Regions from separate parts of the Homo sapiens genome. Here region 1 is linked to region 2. The links are contacts of gene promoters, found by promoter capture Hi-C in human tissues and cell types (Jung and others, 2019). All regions are on one chromosome and are shown on one strand. The core of a region is centred on a gene start or on the middle of the fragment in contact, and the rest is flanking DNA. Distances in the headings are between cores, read along the strand shown.

Region 1 (7,165 bases), core at 3,792-6,291, 72 kb after region 2:
ACCTTTGTTACAATTAATAAACCAATTTTGATACATTAAAGCAGTTCCTTGAATAACATGTTTTTCCCAATGTTAGTTTGTTACAATGTTAATTTTTTTTTTTTTTTTTTTTTTTGAGATGGAGTCTGGCTCTTGTTGGCCAGGCTGGAGTGCAGTGAGCAGCATAATCTCGGCTCACTGCAACCTCTGTCTCCCGGGTTCCAGCAATTCTCCTGCCTCAGCCTCCTGATTAGCTGGGATTATAGGGGCCCACCACCACTCCTGGCTAATTAATTTTTGTACTTTTAGTAGAGACAGGGTTTTGCCATGTTGGCCAGGCTGGTCTCGAACTCCTGACCTCAGGTAAACCACCCACCTTGGCCTCCCAAAGTGCTGGGATTACAGGTGTGAGCCACAGCGCCTGGCCTACAATGTTAATTTTTTAAAAGTGGCTTCCCAGCAAGGTCACCTGTGTGGAGTTTACAGGTTATCCCCATGTCTGTGTGGATTTTCTTCAGGTTCTCACGGTTCTTCCAGTTCCCAAAGCTGTGCTCATTGGGTTCACCAGCACGTCTCCATGGTACTGGGGTGAGTGAGTGTGGGTGAGTGCGGGTGTGGGAGAGTGAGTGTGGATGGGTGAGGGCGAGTGTGGGTGAATGAGGGTGAGTGAGAGTGTGGCTGAGTGAATGTAAGTGAATCAGGGTGAGTGTGAGTGTGAGGGAGTGAATGTGAGTGAATATGAGTGAGGGAGGGTGAGTGGATGAGTGTGGGTGGGTGTGAGTGAGTGAATGTGAGTGGTGGGTGAGTGTGGATGTGAGGGTGAGTGTGGATGTGAGGGTGAGTGGATGAGTGTGGGTGAGTGTGAGTGAGTGAAAGTGAGTGGTGGGTGAGTGTGGATGTGAGGGTGAGAGTGAATGTGAGGGTGAGTGTGAATTTGGGTGAGGGTGTCATCTTGCCCTGGGAGAGCGTCCTGGCCAGGAAGGGTCCTGCCTGGCACCCTGAGCTGCAGGGATGGGCTGTGGCCACCCGCGATCCTGAACTGGATAAGCAGGTAAGTCATTATCTCACTTGTTTTTATTAATCTTTCTTAAATGTACATCTAGCTGACATTTATTTCAATGTTTAATATGAGAACTGTTTTGGTCTTTACTTAGAAGTTCAGTCATGTTTCTGTGACCAGAAATACACTACAGGAACTTCACCCTGGTCTGTGGCATTAGCCTACGGGAAAATTTGTTTTGTTACAGTAATTTAGCTTCAAATCACAGTTTCCACGAACCTATGGCCAAGGTGGACTTACCTTAGAGAGGATTTGCATGTGTGGTTACTGAGAGCTGCTGCGCATGAGGAACTGGGCCAGATTCCATGGGGATGGCAAAAATGGATCAAGAAATAATTCTGTTCTCCAGCTATTTATAATGTAACATAGAAAATAAGACACACATAAATTAACTATAAGGTCATTTTTGCTCAGTGTGGTGGAAGTAGTTTAAATAAATACTAGAATATGGCCAGACACAGTGGCTCACACCTGTAATTCCAGCACTTTGGGAAGCCAAGGTGGGCGGATCACGAGGTCAGGAGATTAGGACCATCCTGGCCAACATGGTGAAACCCCGTCTCTACTAAAAATACAAAAAACTAGCCGGGTGTGGTGGTGGGCGCCTGTGGTCCCAGCTACTCCGGAGGCTGAGGCAGAGCGAGACTCCATGCCCCCACAAAAAAGTGTGTGTGTGTGTGTGTATATATACACACACATACACTTTATGTTTACATATTTATATTTATTTAGTTTATATATATATAAACTAGAAAATAGAGAGATAATTAATGAAGAGAAATGGTAGTTTGGAAGAAACAGAAAAAAAACATAAAAGTAGGCTGGGTGCAGTGGTTCACACCTGTAATTAGCATTTTAGGAGCGCGAGGAACAGCTGAGGCCAGGAGTTCGAGACCAGCCTGATGCAGACGGTGAAACCCCATCTCTACTAAAATACAAAAATTCAAAAATTAGCCAGGCATGGTGGCGGGCACCTGTAGTCCCAGCTATTCAGGAGGCTGAGGCAGAAGAGTCTCTTGAACATGGGAGACAGAGATTACAATGAGCTGAGATCGCGCCACGGCACTCCAGCCTGGGTGACAGAGCGAGACTCCATCTCAAAAATAAAAATAAAATAAAATACTAGAATAATTGATAGAAGGATGTTTTTGTGACCAGAAATATGCTATAGAACTGAATTCTTCTCTATATCAATTAGCCTGTTGGAAAATTGGTTTCATTATTCCAAGAACCTATTGAGGAGGTCTAAGGTCTCCTCCTCTATTGAGGAGGTCTAAGTGAGGCCTTACTGTCCTATTAACTAAAGTCTGTGTTTTATTCTGACATCTTTAGTTTTACCTGATGTCTTTTTCAGTTCCAGGATCCCACCTTGCCCTGAGTTGTCACGCCCCGCAGGCTCTCCTTGGCTGGGGCTGTTTCTCAGATTTTCCTTGTTTTCGAGGACCTTGACAGTTTTGAGGAGTACTGGTCAATCATTCTGCAGGATGCCCTCTGTTGAAATTTATCTGATGTTCTTCTCATCATTTGATCGGTATTACGAGTTCTGGAGAGGAAGACAAGAGCGGCAAAGCGGCGTTCCTCTCGCCTCACATCAGAGGTGCATACTACAGGATTCCTCACAGTGGATGTTGACCTCGATCCCCTGCCGAGAAGCGTTGGTTAGGTTTCTTCATTGCAGACCCACTCCCCCCACCCCACACTGAACTCCTCAGAGGGAGGTCACTGTGTGCAGCTCACACGTACGGAGCAGTGACTCACGCTTCCCTTCTGCAGGTGCAGTGTCCATCGATTGCTAGGAATCCTTCTGTTAAGGAGATTTGTCTCTTCTCCCCATTCATTTATTTACTTGTGCTGTGCAGTCATTTATTTATGTTGGTGGAGACTCACTCCCTGCCCTTTCCGAAGTGCTCTGTGTTTAGGTGATAAATTACGTACCCATTATCTTTGTTTATCACCCACAGCTCCAGCTCATCTTACTTCTTACTTTTGTTTTGCTTTGGCCTCAGATTTGCCACTTATATTACATTTTCATGGTTGTGCTTGTGGCACATTCCGTGTCGCGTGGTGCAATCCTGGAATATTGTGGGGAATACATAATTCTGTAGGTCACGCCTGAGTACGGGAAAGAGAAGTGCACGGAAGTGTGTATGGTGGTCTCATGCTGCACAGGTGTGGCAGCAGCCTTGTGTCTCTGGGTATCAGAAGTAATACATGGAGTAGCATAAATTGGAACCATGCAAAGAAATTTATTTACGAATCGTGTGGCCGGGCACGGTGGCTCACGCCTGTAATCCCAGCACTTTGGGAGGCCGAGGTGGGCAGATCACGAGGTCAGGAGATCGAGACCATCCTGGCTAACATGGTGAAACCCCGTCTCTACTAAAAATACAAAAATTAGCCGGGCGTGGTGGCGGGCGCCTGTAGTCCCAGCTACTCCGGAGGCTGAGGCAGGAGAATGGGGTGAACCTGGGAGGCGGAGCTTGCAGTGAGCCGAGATCGCCCCACTGCACTCCAGCCTGGCAACAGAGCGAGATTCCATCTGAAAAAAAAAAAAAAAACAACAACAAAAAACTAGAATCATGTACTTTCAGCTTTGCTATCAGTCATCTCACCCTTGGAAAGCCAGAATAAGTTACTCTGGGCAATGTCAAGGAAGATTTAATTTCAGATTGATGTTGTTTCCTCAGACAGTCCATTCTTCTTTCCTTTCAGTCAGTCTCACAGGCGTTTCCCCAAACAAACATCCCTGCTTGCAACTGTATCTCCTAACACAACCGATCACAAGAGCACGCAGCCAAGCTGAGGGCAGAATACGGATGCGTGCATCCTATTCACTAACCTGCTAAGGCACTCATGCTGGATAAGACCCTCACATCTTCCCCCATTCCTAAATCCCTAATGCATCTGTCCCCCCAATCTTAGCAAGCTTAATGCTTAAAATAAACAGTTTTATGTAGAAAGTTATCCCATTGACTTTTCTGGTCTTCTCCTCTACAAAGAAACTTGATATAAACATTTGTGGATAGCTTTTTCAATGAGCATATACTTTTATCTTTCTTGGATAAATACCTAAAATTGGCTGGGTCATACGGTAGGTGTGTATTTAACTTTGTAAGAAATCGCCAAACTCTTTTCCAAAGTTCCGTGTATTCGACATTCCTACTACCAGCATGTGAGAGTTTTAGTCCCTCCACATACTGGGCAACACTTGGTACAGTCAGTTGTTTTAGCTTTAGACATGCTAGTGGGTGTGCAGTTGTATCTCATTGCAGTTTTACCAAATGGCTTTTTTGGTGATGTGTAATATAGTCTGATGGAACTCTTTCAACTTCCTTATTTTTTAAAATTGATACATAATAATCATACCCATATATGGGGTACATGTGATTATTTATTTATTTATTATTTATTTTTTTTTTTTAGACAGAGTCTCGCCCTATCTCCAGGCTGGAGTGCAGTGGCGCCATCTGGACTCACTGCAACCTCCGCCTCCCAGGTTCAAGTGATTCTCCTGCCTCAGCCTCCTGAGTAGCTGGGATTACAGGCGTCCCCCAACACGCCCAGCTAATTTTTGCATTTTTAGTAGAGACGGGGTTTCACCGTATTGGCCAGGATAGTCTGGATCTTCTGACATAGTGATCTGCCCGCCTCGGCCTCCCAAAGTGCTGGGATTACAGGTGGGAGCCACCGTGCCTGGCCATAGGTGATATTTTGATCTCTGCATACAATGCAGTGAACATGTCAGGATACCTATCATCGCAAACCTCATTTCTTTGTGTTGGAACATTTTATTTATTTATTTATTTATTTATTTATTTATTTATTTATTTATTTTTTTTTTTGAGACGGAGTCTCGCTCTGTCGCCCAGGCTGGAGTGCAGTGGCGCAATCTCAGCTCACTGCAGGCTCCGCCTTCTGGGTTCACGCCATTCTCCTGCCTCAGCCTCCCGAGTAGCTGGGACTACAGGCGCCCACCACCACGCCCGGCTAATTTTTTGTATTTTAGTAAAGACGGGGTTTCACCATGTTAGCCAGGATGGTCTTGATCTTCTGACCTCGTGATCCGCCCGCCTCGGCCTCCCAAAGTGCTGGGATTACAGGCGTGAGCCACTGTGCCCGGCCGTTGAGAACATTTTAAATCTAGTTATTCTGAAATATACAATAAATTATTGTTAACTACTGTTACTCTACTGTGCTATTGAACACTAGAACTTATGCCTTCTGTCTAATTATGTTTGTACATGTTAAGCAACCTCTCTTCATCCTTCTCCGCCAGTTCCCAGCCCCTGGTGACCTGCATTCTGCTCTCTCTTTCAATGAGATCAACTTTTTAAGCTCCCACATATGAGTGAGAACGTATTTGTGTTTCTGTGCCTGGCTTATTTCCCTTCACATAAAGTCCTCCAGGCTCATCCATGTTGCCGTGAATGACAGGACATCATTCTTCTTATGGCTGAATAGTATTCCATTATATATATTTACCACATTTAAAAAATGAATTTAGTTTATAAATTGTCATAAATTTAACAAATTTTAAATCTGTTCATTTATTTAACAAACATGTATTAAGTCTTTTATATGCCAAGCTCTGTGTTAATGCGGCATTGGTTATACAAAGATGAATTAGATATTTATTTTTGTTTTGGTAAAGTTTGCAGTCTAGGAGCAGATGTGTTGGACATGTTCAAAGTCAAATTACAGTATATTGAGGTGTGAACTAGGTGGAAATTTGGGTTTTGAAAGTGAAAATAAGGAAAACATAAAAACATGAAAGGATCTCAATATTAGGTTATATAGAGAGAGGGGAGGCCAAGGAAAGAAAGTGGGAAGTAGAAACTGGAGATTGGAGGAAACTAGGAGAGAGAAAATTCTGAAGATTTCAAAAGAAGAAAGATTCTCAAAGCAAGGCATGGTTAACAAATACAAATCTGAGGAGATGCCTACTGGTGTGAGATCTGAAATGAACACCTTGGGTTTGGAAAAGGGAGTCCACAAATGATCTTAATATGAGTATTTTTTTGTGTTGTAATAAAGGTGAAAGTCTTTTATCTAGCAGTAAGCTAGAAAACTTTTACTGATTTTTAAACAGAAATTCTCTAGAAGGTTTTGATTTTTTTCTTTCTGTAGGTCACATATTTTACTGTTACTTTCATTCTCAACATTTCTAATACAAATACTATATATATATATATTTCTTTTTTTTTTTGTGAGATGGAGTTTTGCTCTTGTCGCTCAGGATGGAGTGCAATGGCGCGATCTTTGTTCACTACAACTTCCGCCTCAGCCTCCCAGGTTCAAGCGATTCTCCTGCCTCAGCCCCCTAAGTAGCTGAGATTACAGGCACCTGCCACCACGCCCAGGTAATTTTTGTATTTTTAGTAGAGACGGGGTTTTGCCATGTTGGTCAGGCTGGTCTCGAACTCCTGACCTCAGGTGATCTACCTGCCTCGGCCTCCTGAAGTGCTGGGATTACAGGCATAAGCCACAGCGCCCGGCCAAATACAATATTAATTTGGATTATATTTAGCTGTGTGTTGCTGACAGTCATACACACTATTGAGATTTTATTTATTTTATATCATTTTCTTTTTGTTAAAGTCAATTTTAGAATTCGTATAGCATTTTTGAATTTTTGTTGTTGTTGTTATCAAACAACAATGTTTCGTTCATTTGTTTTTCACTATTTGTTCCCAGTGTTTTTGGTTATATCTAAGTGTATCGTCTGAATTCTTAAAACACTAACATTTGTGGCAGTTGTTGCCGTACTGATTTCTTCCCAGTTTTAAAAAGAATGACTGGGATTTTGGAGGAAGTTTAACATTAACTTTTAGTTTAAAATAATTTTGTTTCATCAGAAGAGAAACTATTTTTTCCTTTTTCAAAATATTTAAATTGGGAACGAATATTGTTCTTTTAAAAAATATTCTTCTGGCCGGTTGCGGTGGCTCACGCCTGTAATCCCAGCACTTTGGGAGGCCTAGGCGGGTGGATCACGAGGTTAGGAGATCGAGACCATCCTGGCTAACACGGTGAAACCCCGTCTCTACTAAAAATTAAAAAAGTAGCCGGGCGTGGTGGCGGGTGCCTGTGATCCCAGCTACTCAGGAGGCTGAGGCAGTAGAATTG
Region 2 (7,162 bases), core at 1,005-3,504:
TGGTAAATGTTAAAGACTCCTCCTGGGGTTGTGTTGAAATAACACACTGAATGGAGATGGTAGTTCATAAATTCTTTTTCTAGTGGTGGCAGTTAGTGTTATTGTAGTCTTTTTTTTTTTTTTTTTTTTTTTTTGAGATGGGATCTTTCTCTGTCTCCCAAGCTGGAGTGCAGTGGTGGGATCTTGGCTCACTGCAACCTCCACCTCTTGGGTTCAAGTGATTCTCCTGCCTCAGCCTCCCAAGTAGCTGGGATTACAGGCGTGCAACACCACACCCAGCTATTTTTACTTTTTTTTTTTTTTTTTTTGAGACAGAGTTTCGCTTTTGTTGCCCAGGCTGGAGTGCAATGGCGTGATCTCACCTCACTGCAACCTCCACCTCCTGGGTTCAAGCAATTCTTCTGTCTCAGCCTCCTGACTAGCTGGGATTACAGGCATGTGCCACCATGCCCGGCTAATTTTGTATTTTTAGTAGAGACGGAGTTTCTCCATGTTGGCCAGGCTGGTCTCGAACTCCCGACCTCAAGTGATCTGCCTGCCTCAGCCTCCCAAAGTGCTGGGATTACAGGCATGAACCACTGCACCCGGCCTAATTTTCATATTTTTAGTAGAGACGGAGTTTCACCATGTTGGCCAGGCTGGTCTTAAACTCCTGACCTCAAGTGATCCACCCACCTCGGCCTCCCAAACTGCTGGGATTACAGATGTGAGCAACCGCGCCTGGCCAAACTTTTTTTCTTTTTTTTTTTAAGACTCTTACAAGACTAACTCATAGCAATATTCTGAAGCTGTGACAAGTTAGTATCCTGGAGGCTATCTTGGTAGAGGTTTCATGATGCCACCCTGATGCCACCTCTCTTCCTCTTTACAGTAGTATAACTCTTTGCTCTTATTTTTTCATAGCTTAAATTCTCATCCTAGCAATTCACGTATGCTTTACAAGGGATGTATAGGATTGAAACATTTTGAATTAATGATTTCAGAAAGGTGAGTTTTGACTAGGAGAAAGGAAGGTGGAGGAAAAAACATTCTCAGCCAGAAAACTTCTTTTTCCCAAAGTTCAAGATAAGAAAACATCCAACATCCTGTTGGAGGTAAGTGGGAAAGAAGTAGCAGTTGGAGCCTTGAAAGTCAGAAACCAATGAACGGAACAGCCTGAGTAATGGACCCGACTCGTGGAAGGCTGCCAAGCTGGAGAGTGAGGGGACGGAGACAGAAATATGGCGTGATGAGTTCGTGGGAAGGTCAAACTCGCTGGCCTTTGAGGAAGAGCTTTTGAGGTGCAACTTCCTGGCATGCAGTGAGCAGAAGGCAGGCCAGGACAGGAGCTGACTCCCGAGCAGGGGACACAGTGAATTTGTGGCATTTGTTACCAATCTCGGAGTTCACTGTGCACAGTCTCCACACTAGGCATTTACTTTTTCATATGTCCGAAAAAATGTCTGCACACTTCATTTCTGTCCAGTAAGAACTGATAATCAGGGATTTGAAGGGGCCTAGTTTGGAAATTTTCAATGGGTGAAAATAAGTGAGCAAAATTACATTTATACTAAAATATAATTCTTTCCATCTGCTCCATAGTGGGATAGCCTCTTGAGGCAACTTCCAATTAGAATGTCATTTTAGATGCTTTCCAAGATGGCAGATGGGTGAGTACTAGGGTGTGCAGGGAAGATCAATAAACAGCTCTGGCAATTCATCGTGCGCCTAACACCAAGGAATACTTCAGTGGAAGAGCTCTCATTTTGTTGGGATGAATAAAATTAAATAAAAGTACACAGTACCCAATAAAGGAACAAAAGCTTAGGCTTTGGTCAAGCAGAACAAAAGGGGCTAATGAGAAAAGGACTATGTATTACAGTTTTCTTCTCTCAGTTCTCAACTAGGTTTTATTAGTGGAGTTCCCAAAAGATTTGGACCAAATTTCCAATTCAGATATTATTAGAGATCATCAAAACTCAAATCTCTTTACTGGTTTACACCAAATCACCCAAGCTTCCAGCCTAAAACCCACATGCTCACATGGTTCCACAGTGCTGTTTATGTACAATAACCAGTTCTCAAAATGGTAATCCTGTTAGAAGCCAGAATCCTCAGCCTCTAGCATGTGTGCTTTTCACAGAGATAAGTCTCAAAGTTTGGGGTTGGTGAGGAGCCCAGTATACAGGAGTTCCACATTAAGTCATAATTGGCTTTGTGTTGGACAGTGTATGTCAGCTGGTGAAATCAGGCACAGAAGAGATAAGGGTTTCTTGTCATAACAACATAGGAACAGGTCACCCGCGTGTTACTCAAAACTGTAGGACGGCAGTGAGGGCTTTGCTAATCCCAGAACAGAGGTGTAACCTGGCTGCATATCCAGCCTCGAGAAAATGTCTACAGCAGATCTGATGGAGAACCTCAGGGAGGAACTCACCTGTTTCATCTGCTTAGACTATTTCAGCAGCCCAGTGACCACCGAGTGTGGGCACAGCTTTTGTCTGGTGTGTCTCCTCAGGAGCTGGGAGGAACATAACACACCTTTATCTTGTCCTGAGTGCTGGAGGACCTTGGAGGGCCCGCATTTCCAGTCAAACGAGCGTCTGGGGAGGCTGGCCAGCATCGCCAGGCAGCTCCGGTCCCAGGTGCTGCAGAGCGAGGATGAGCAGGGCAGCTACGGGAGGATGCCCACCACTGCCAAGGCGCTCTCCGATGACGAGCAGGGTGGAAGCGCCTTCGTAGCCCAGAGCCATGGTGCAAACAGAGTGCATCTCTCCAGCGAGGCTGAGGAGCATCACAGAGTAAGACAGCTGCTCAGCATGAACCCCACGACTCATCGCAGCTAACTCCGTTAGCTTTCCTGACGTTTCCTAACGTCCTCTGTGGGGGACAGTCACGAGGGCCCATCTGAGCACCACATCACAAACTGGCGTGGGTCCAGTTTACACCCTTTTTTTTCCCTTTTTTTGTTTTTGAGACAGAGTTTTGCTCTGTTGCCCAGGCTGGAGTGCAGCAGTGCGATCTCAGTCACTGCAACCTCCGCCTCCCAGGTTCACGCCATTCTCCTGCCTCAGCCTCCCCAGTAGCTGGGACTACAGTCACCCACCACCACGCCCGGCTAATTTTTTGTATTTTTAATAGAGACGGGGTTTCACCATGTTGGCCAGGCTGGTCTTGAACTCCTGACCTCAGGTGATCCGCCTGCCTCGGCCTCCCAAAGTGCTGGGATTACAGGCGTGAGGCGCCGCACCCAGCCTGCCCTTTGTTTTAGAGGCCTAGGACTGCGCAGTTACTGGTCTTCAAAGCCCCTTCATGACCTGGGACTCTGCTCATTTGCCAGAAAGGGTTTGTTTCTATTGCAGGAGAAACTCCAGGAAATCCTGAATCTTTTGCGTGTAAGGAGAAAGGAAGCTCAGGCTGTACTAACCCATGAGAAGGAGAGAGTGAAACTGTGCCAGGTCGGTGTCTGTCTGACTTTTGCTGCTTGTATATGACCCCATAAGGGGGACTAAAGGGAAATTTAGTGAAATATCAGGAAAAAAAAAAGACAAATTTTTCCAGTCTCACCTCTAAAATATGCAGTTTCCTTGCATTGGGCTGCCTTCTTCTGAGCGTCCTCGTGGGAGTCTCAAGGCTCAGCTGCAATTCGCCCCCTCTAGGAGCCTCCTTTGCATAACTAGACAACGCTGTGGCTTCCTCTATGATGGCTCTGGTAGAATTATTTAAAACACAAGTGATACTTATAGACATGTAACATGAGACGGAAAGCGATTTTAAAAAGAAATATCTCAAAAACATGGAGGGGAAAATGCAAATTAAAAAAAATAAAGAGACAGAGATATAAAAGCAAAATAGTGGTTTAAATGATACCTGACAAGTCCTCAAGGTTGGTCACGGACTTGGATTTGAGCTCTCCAGCAGTCAAAGCAAAGGACTAAATATCAAATTATATATTTTTTAAAACCATGTATCTGATTCTCCCAATAGACTTTGAAATCTGTTTTTTTTTTTTTTTTTTTGGAGATGGAGTCTCTCTCTGTCGCCCAGGCTGGAGTGCAGTGGCGCGATCCCGGCTCACTGCAACCTCCACCTCCCGGGTTCAAGTGATTCTCCTGCCTCAGCCTTCTGAGTAGCTGGGATTACAGACGTGTGCCACCATGCCCAGCTAATTTTGTATATTTGTGGAGATGGGGTTTTACCATGTTAGCCAGGCTGATCTCGAACTCCCGACCTCAGGTAATCCACCTGTCTCGGTCTCCCAAAGTGCTGGGATTACAGGTGTGAGCCACCGTGCTTGGCCGTAGACTTTGAATTCTTAAGTGAGAGTATTTGCCATGTATGTTTCTGTTCCTTTTTGGTTATCTGACACCTACTTTCATTGAATAAATATTTGTTGAATAAATGAACACACATTTTTCATAATTTTTCTTAATTTTGTTTTATTTGTATCATAGTCCTGATCACTACTTGTCATATTTCTTACTCATTTTTGGTTTTCTCCACTAGAACGACCGCCTCCTGGGAATGGAGATTTTGGTTTTGTTTACTATTGTATCTATAGCGCACATACCTCCGAAAACATCAACCTCTACACCCAGCGCATCAACAGATTAAATGTATTATATGTTGGATTTCAGGAATTGTTGCCATGAAACTCTAGGACTTGGCCAGGCATGGTGGCCCACACCTGTAATCCCAGCACTTTGGGAGGCTGAGGAGGGTGGGTCACCCGGTCAAGAGACTTGAGACAATCCTGACCAACATGGTGAAACCCCATCTTTACTAAAAATACAAAAATTAGCTGGGCGTGGTGGCACACTCCTAGACTATAGTCCCAGCTACTCAGGAGGCTGAGGCAGGAGAATCATTTGAACTCAGGAGGCAGAGGTTGCAGTGAGCCGAGATTGCGCCACTGCACTTCAGACTGGCGACAGAGTGAGACTCCATCTCAAAAAAAAAAAAAAAAAGAAAGAAAGAAACTCTAGGACTTGTAAGGATTAAAAATCTACAGACAAGGGCATTTCTCTTACTAACTTTATCTCGTGTGTGTGTGTGTGTGTGTGTGTGTGTGTGTGTGTTTTGGCAGGAAGAAACAAAGACTTGTAAACAGGTTGTTGTGTCAGAATACATGAAAATGCACCAGTTCCTGAAGGAAGAGGAGCAGCTGCAACTCCAGCTACTAGAACAGGAAGAGAAAGAGAACATGAGGAAGCTGAGGAACAATGAGATCAAACTGACCCAGCAAATCAGAAGCCTAAGCAAAATGATCGCACAGATTGAGTCCTCAAGTCAAAGCTCGGCTTTCGAATCTCTTGAGGTGAGAATAACATTCATGAGAGTAATGGGAAAAATTATAGTAACTCATAGTACTTCAAGCCATAGGAAATAATGTTTTCTTTATTCATCTTAAAAACTAAGTTCTGGTCCAAAAGTAGTTTTCCTAAAGAATTGACATTCTATATGTCAATAAAGCCTTATAGAAGAGAGAGAGAGAGAAAAAAAAAAACACATCCAGAGGAATAACTATCCCAAACAAGCCTGAGAGTGGCTTCAATTTCTTCTGTACCTGCCTCTCTGCAACCTCAGCTTTGTTAATTTTTTTTTCTAGTTTATTAATGTGTATTTACTATGTGCTGGGCACATTAAATTTAATCTTCACAAAGACCTGATGAAGATAAGTACCATTATGATATGAACTCTAGGTCTAGATGACTGTCATCTACAGGATGGGTTAATAGCGGCACTGATTTAATTATTCATACCTGTGGTACTAACGAGATCTGCCCGCCTGATAGTTAATAGACAGGAGAGCCCTCCTGTTCTGTGCAGGGAGCTCCTATTTCTCACCACCTTTGGTCTACTGCCCTTCTAGGCTGCTGCATTCTTCAGGACCTTTTTTTTTTTTTTTGAGACAGAGTCTCGCACTGTCGCCCAGGCTGGAGTGCAGTGGTGCAATCTTGGCTCACTGCAATCTACGCCTCCTGGGTTCAAGCAATTCTCTTGCCTCAGCCTCCCAAGTAGCTGGGATTACAGGCGTGTGCCACCATGCCCAGCTAAGTTTTGTATTTTTAGTAGAGACGGGGTTTCACAATGTTGGCCAGGATGGTCTCTATCTCTTGACCTTGTGATCCATCCACCTTGGCCTCCCAAAAGGCTGGGATTACAGGCGAGAGCCACCGGCACCCGGCCGTGGACTTTCTTAAACATAAGCCATGTGATCCAACTCCAGCTTCAGGTCTGTTTTGTAGACTGGTTCCACAGAGTGCTACTATTTAATTTAGTGCCTTCCAAACACACCACCCCGACCTGACACAGGCTTGGTTAGCCTCAGTTCTCACCAGCCCATTTTCCTTTGTTATCTCTGCCTCTCACTGGATGATCGAGACTAACAGGTTGGCTTGTTTGCAGAACAGGTTCCCTGGACAAGGTGATGATACGAGAAAAAGAAAAGGACAAAGTATTCTCTAGTCATTGTGAGAAACACCTTGTGTTCACCACAGCACATCCCTGGAAGAAACTGGGGACGCTTTTCTCTGCTCTCTGTGCTCCCACTCATGGTGTGCTTCATGGGAAGCAGATTCTGTGAGCTTTGCAAGGACTGTATGCAAAATGAATTTCGTCTGTGTTATGATCAAAGCGCACCATGCTAACTTCTTTCTTTTTTACCCGTAGGAAGTGAGAGGAGCCCTGGAAAGGTAGGCTTTCATTCTGTGTTCAGTTATGCAAGCTGCGGGGCAGTGGTGCTGATGGACAGTTCTGAGTGGGGATAGGAGGTCTGCGCTGTTGCTGGGGGAGAAATGAGGTGGACTCTCCAGCTGGAGCAGGTCACGCGGTCTGTGCCGAGGAGTGAACCTCTCTGCTCTCTTGCAGGAGCGAGCCACTCTTGCTTCAGTGTCCAGAGGCCACCACCACAGAGCTGAGTCTGTGCCGCATCACGGGAATGAAGGAGATGCTAAGAAAATTCAGCAGTAAGTCAGCCTGATTTGTTACCCCTCCGGGGCTCGAAGAATTAACTTCAGCATACCTTCTTCCAGTGTCAGACATTCACGATCTGACACGAGGCTCCTGGTTAAGGAATCCGGGCCAGCACGGAACACCAGGGAGGGCTGGGGCCACAGACCGTCTCTGAGCGTGAGCAGAGAGAAGCAGTGAGACTTGACTCAGGCTTTATCTGGCTTTGTTT

The links. The method cuts DNA at HindIII sites, captures the fragments that hold promoters and counts their contacts. A contact is called where the count stands out against the background at its distance.
Region 1: a fragment that was not itself captured here is called in contact with the fragment with the promoter of TRIML1 in region 2 in 2 of the 25 tissues and cell types used here (H1 embryonic stem cells and spleen).

Annotation. Positions count from the first base shown.
Region 1 is chr4:188,206,218-188,213,382 of GRCh38, forward strand. No RefSeq gene overlaps it. Among named protein-coding and RNA genes, the nearest start is that of LINC02434, 50 kb to the left of the region's middle. The HindIII fragment of the contact is 9,513 bases long and covers 286-7,165 here.
Region 2 is chr4:188,137,187-188,144,348 of GRCh38, forward strand. TRIML1 (tripartite motif family like 1) reads left to right here and starts at 2,255. Exons shown (of 6, transcript NM_178556.5): 1 at 2,255-2,780; 2 at 3,342-3,437; 3 at 5,066-5,296; 4 at 6,652-6,674; 5 at 6,850-6,947. The coding sequence starts at 2,373. The HindIII fragment of the contact is 25,840 bases long and covers 1-7,162 here.